Linked DNA regions of Homo sapiens: region 1 is linked to region 2. Evidence: promoter capture Hi-C in human tissues and cell types (Jung and others, 2019). All regions are on one chromosome and are shown on one strand. Each heading gives the region's core, a stretch centred on a gene start or on the middle of the fragment in contact. The rest is flanking DNA. Distances are from core to core; before and after follow the strand shown. Region 1 has its middle 9.7 kb from the start of EDA. Region 2 holds the start of OTUD6A (OTU deubiquitinase 6A).

What was found. Contacts are between HindIII fragments. The study calls those that stand out against the background at their distance.
Region 1: a fragment that was not itself captured here is called in contact with the fragment with the promoter of OTUD6A in region 2 in 2 of the 25 tissues and cell types used here (mesendoderm cells and thymus).

The regions. Positions count from the first base shown.
Region 1 is chrX:69,605,104-69,607,803 of GRCh38, reverse strand. No RefSeq gene overlaps it. Among named protein-coding and RNA genes, the nearest start is that of EDA, 9.7 kb to the left of the region's middle. The HindIII fragment of the contact is 5,616 bases long and covers 1-2,700 here.
Region 2 is chrX:70,061,180-70,063,879 of GRCh38, reverse strand. OTUD6A (OTU deubiquitinase 6A) reads right to left here and starts at 1,423. Exons shown (of 1, transcript NM_207320.3): 1 at 1-1,423. The coding sequence starts at 1,355. The coding sequence ends at 489. The HindIII fragment of the contact is 14,829 bases long and covers 1-2,700 here.

The sequences.
Region 1 (2,700 bases), core at 121-2,620, 460 kb after region 2:
ACTCAGCCTAGGGTTCTTTTTCTTACTAAACCTGTCATATTTACTCATTACACTTATATTTGCCTGCTCCATCTGGCCAAAGAGCTTATTGTGCCCACAGTCTGCATTTCTTGGTCATGAGAATTAGAGAACAGATCTTAGGGATCTGAGCCCTGGAGAGTAAGGCTCTCTAGGATCCAATCTTGGTTCTGTGATAAGCAACCTGTGACAGGGCTTGGAAAAATCTAGAGTTATAATAACTTTCCCAAAATGACTCCAGCTGCCCACAACTAGATTACATTCAGGTAATACACTTAACTTTGGATATTTTATATAGCATATTTATTCAGTAAGCATTCATAGAGTATCTGCTATGTGCCGGGCACCAGTCTAAGTGCTGGGAATACATTTGTGGACAAAACAAAGAATTAATACAATTAATGTACAATAAGAACATTTTTATTTGGAAAATAGGGACTCTATTTCACAAATTCAGTATAGCAGCAAAGCTTTTAAATGGCCTTGTCCCTCCTCCCACTACACCTCTGAGCTGGACCAGATTCACAGGCACACTCTTATAATTTGGGAAATGCCATGTCCTAACAGTTTTAGAGTCTTCAAACATTGCACAAAAAAATGTGAATCACCCCAATTCGAAAGCTTTCCTTTAAACAACTCAGAGAACTAGCAGTCCTGGGCTAAGAAATGCTAAATTAATAGCCTATTGGAATTTAAGCACGCTTCTAAGCTGCTTAACACTTGATGAGTAAAAATCCAGGAATGGACGCTACAGGGTAACAGTCTGGCTCCTGGAAGGATGGGAATCATGGAAGCCTAGGTCCAAGGTGAGCAGTTGGTGTATGAAGATGAGCTCCAAGTTGATCTTCAGTCTTATGATATCAATGTGTATATATATATATATAGAATATATATAGAATATATATATATTCTGTTAATAAATAATGATGCTAGAATTAGGATGAGTAAAAGAAAGTATGGTAGAATTTGTAAAATATAAAATGCTATACAAATGTAAGATATTAAGATAATAGCTACCTCGTATTGAGTACCTACTATGTGCCAGGCACTATGTTTGGCAAAGTTACATATGTTTATCTCATTTGATCTTCAGGAACAACCTTACAAGATAAATTGCTCATTTTCCTACATGTAAAAAAAAAGACAGGCCCAGAGAAAAGTGAAGTACTGTGTCTGATGTCCCCCAGCTGGTAGATGTAGTGCTAAGATTCAAATCCAAATCTGTCCTGATTGAAAAGCCCACATTCTTTTCATTATGCCATGCTGAACAATTTATTTTGCATACTCAGAAACCTAAGGAATAAGGAGTTTTCTGTAATTTTAAAGTTAGAATCTAATAGATACTAGATGGCGGTACCTTTTCCTCATTCCAATATGATCTTACCGTCCAATGGGAAGGTATGATACTGCAGCCAAGTCAAATTAGATCTCGAAAAATCACAAAACTGAAGCAGAAAATTGCAGCAGTAGAAAATGGAGACCCAAGAAATTACGTGAGGTAGAGCCAAGGAGAAAATAGTGGGGTACCTGCTAGCAGAGGGGGTTTGCAAAGTGCTACTACAAAATAACAGTTTCAGCAAAAAATTCCCAGAGGGTTTTATATTGATTCTTTCACTTGCCCATTCATTACTTCATTTATACATCCATCCACTTCTCAAAGAGTTTTTTGAGCACTGGCTATAGGCACTCACAGCTCACAGAACTTCAGTGAACTGTGTGAACTAATAAATGAATACCCAGGAGGCCAAATCCAGCATGTCATAGACCTACAGCAGTCTTGACCACTATCTTAACCCTTTTTATCATACAAGTTCAGTTCAGTCAGCTTAGGGATTTTGTTTTCCTATTGTGACCTATCTTCGATTAACACTGGGAATACAGACTTTGCTTGACTGAAATGTGCTTTACAGCAATGGCTACTGAAGAATAAGCTTCCACAAACTGACTCCTTTGTGAAAAGACTAGAAACTAAGCTTTCTGTAGCAACAGAAAGCAGGACCCACAGAAGCAGGAGTTGAGACACCAAGCCCATGCCTGCGGGAAGGAAGTTGCCCTTAGGAATGTGCCAAATTGCTTGAGAAAGGAGAGTGCCTGCTGAGAGGGAAGGAGATGGGAGCCCCGAGAAATTATATGACCTAAGCGTCACTACTACCCACCAGATCTTGGGCTCCTGGGCCCAAAGGCCTTAGGTCTGCAGTACTAGGTGTGACAACCCAAGTTTAGCGAGTTCTACTTTAACCCCCAGAGTTCCAAAACTCACATGCTTTTTTTTCCCTCAGCTTTTATACATAACTCAAGAGGTCAGAACTGGAAGACCCTCAGGAGGCCACCGAGTCCAGTCCAACCTATTTCAAAAGAAGAAACTGAAGCCTAGAAGGGCCAAGAATCATGCCCATTAAGTTAATGAATGAGCTGGACTAGAACCAATTGCTCCTCCCTCTACCCTCAAGCTACTACCTTACATATCTGTACCTGACACTCTTAAGGCATTTTCAAAACACATGAATTACTTTCATTTTACTTCTGCTGAGCTAAAAGCATGAAACAGGAAATCAACTAGAAATCACTGGCTTAGCTTCTGATTCCTAGTCCTCATTCCCTACCAGTCTCTAATAATTTTCCTGGTTTGTACTTTGCCTTGAGGTATTCCTCCATTTTATCCAGCCTCATTCCTGTATTCAA
Region 2 (2,700 bases), core at 174-2,673:
GGCTAATTTTTGTATTTTTTGTAGAGGTGGGGTTTCACCATGTTGGCCAGGCTGGTCTCGAACTCCTGACCTCGTGATCCGCCCGCCTCGGCCTCCCAAAGTGCTGGGATTACAGGCGTGAGCCACCGCGCCCGGCCAATATTTCCATTTTTGTGGTGAAGTTATACGCAACATGACCAAATCTTAGTTGGTGAGGGAGGTAAAAGACCCTTAAGGGCAAGAAGAGGTTAGAACTTTCAAATTTATGCCCCTCTGGTGGTGCAATGCAGAGATTTCCCTCATATTTCCGGGGAATTTCCCTCGAATTTCGTTTCCCACCCTGTGAAAGCAGCAAGGTTAGGAAAGCGGGGGCGGGGCGGGGGCGGGTAGTTTTGATTAAAAGGAAGGAAAAGAAAAACAGAGAAAAGCAAAAGGGGAAAATAAACTGAGCCTACTGAGGAGATGCGGCGACGGCGACAGTTTCCCGGGGCTGCTCAGCGCCTTGGGGCCTACAGGAGACGCGGGAGCACGCCCCCGGCGGCGCCGGCCTCGAGCGGTGTCACGGAGTTGTAGTGCTCGCCGAGGCTGTAGGCATAGCGCAGGTAGACCAGGATGATCGGCTTCTTGACGTACTCCTCCCCGATGATCAAGGTGGGCGAGTCGGCCTGGATCACCTCGATGGGGGTCTTCAGGACGTGCGACAGGGCCCTCAGCTCCAGCTGGCCTCCCCATGCCGTGGTGCGCACGATGTTGTCGCAGTAGATCATGAAGTCGTCGTAGCCGAAGGAGTCGCTGGTCTCGGGGTTGCTGAAGAAGGGCAGGAACTCGTCGACGTGCTTCTTCATGTAGCTGGCGGTGCGGCAGCGCAGCATCTCCACAGACACGCTGAACACCAGCTGGTCTTGGATGGCGCGGTACATGCAGTGGCCGTCGGCCGGGATCGCTTTCATCTCCAGACCCCTGGCTCCCAGGATGGCGGCGAGCTTCTCCTCCTCCTCGCGCTTGAAGCCGGCCAGGTGCTCCGACATCTCAGCCTGGAAGATGCTCTCCTGGCGCTCCCTCTCCTCGGACTCCATTCTTTCTCTCTTTCTGTGGGCTTTGGAGGAGCGGGGAGGCCGGTTTTCCAGATTCATCTTGGCCAGGTCTTCGACGACAGATTCAATGCTACTGTCGTCTTGGAACTTCTCCAGCTCCTGCCGGTGCTTCTGAGCCATCTCGGCCTCCATGCGGGCCACGTCTTGGAGCAACTGCTTTCTTTTCGTCTTGTCGGTCTTGGGGACCGAGTTTTTTAAGCTCCGGATCTGGGCCTGCAGCTCCTGCCTCTCGCGTTGGTGGCGGCGCAGTATGCGCTGCTGTTCACTCTTCGGATCATCCATGATGTTGAATGGCAAGCGGGAGTTGAAATTTGCTGGCAGTTCAAGTACCGAACAGACCAGAAGTCCTCAGCCTGTCCTAACGGTCGCTCTCTTTCACCTCACCGGCTCTAACCGCCGCTCTAGGCTCACCTCAGCCTCCGCTTCCCCTCCCCCATTCGCATTCTTCTCTGCCTTTGGTCACTGTGTCTCCATGGCCACGCCCCCGCAAGTGCTAGGCCACTTGCTGGGCCACCCGCAAATGCCCAGTGCTAGGATTGGCTGTTGGGAGACCGGAAGTATGAGCCCATTGGACCCCACAGCAAAGGTTTTTGGCGGGATTCAAATATGGCCTTCCTGCAATGTGTGTGGCAGTTGGGCCTGTAGAGTCTTTCGCTGATTGAGAGCCGACTTCATTTCCAAGTCTGCACACAATGCAGGCAGTAGCCATGCCTGACAGCCACATGACAGATACTACACCGCTGAATGTGCTCTAACCCTGGACTTGGCATTGCCCCTACTGTTGAGGAAGCAGTGCGTTTTTCTCCAGTCTTTCAGGTCCCTTCACCAGGGAACCATTAACTTGTGCATCAGAACAAGGACATTTCCTTACATTCCTGCAAACACAGTCCTTTCAGTTTACTCTTTTTTTGAGGGGGGGGCGCGGGGAACGGAGTCTCGCTCTGTCGCCCAGGCTGGAGTGCAATGGTGCAATCTCAGCTCACTGCAACCTCTGCCTCCCAGGTCCAAGCGATTCTCCTGCCTCAGCCTCCCGGGTAGCCGGGACTACAGGCGCCTGCCACCACGCCCGGCTAATTTTTGTATTTTTAGTAGAGACGAGGTTTCGCCGTGTTGGCCAGGCTGGTCTTGGAACTCCTGACCTCAGGTGATTTACTCGCCTCGGCCTCCCAAAGTGCTGGCATGAGCCACTGTGCCCAGTCACAAGTTTTTATTTTAGCCATTTTGATAAGTGTGAAGTTCCCTGATGGCTAATGATGTTCCTTTTTTCATGTGCTCATTTGTCATCTATGCCATATCCTTTTCAGTAAAATGTTTATGTCATTTGCCTATTTTCTCTCTCTTTTTTTTGGGGGGGGTGGAGTCTAGCTCTGTCACCGAGGGTGGAATGCAGTGGCGTGATCATGGCTCATTGCAGCCTCAAACTCCTGGGCTCAGGCTCAGGTGATCCTCCTGCCTCAACATCCTGAGTAGCTGGGACTACAGGCACCACCATACTTGGCTAATTTTGGGGAATTTTTTTTTTTTTTTTTTTTTTGCCAGATGCGGTGGCTCACGCCTGTAATCCCAGCACTTTGGGAGGCCAAGGTGGGAGGATGTCTTGAGGTCAGGAGTTCCAGACCAGCCTGGG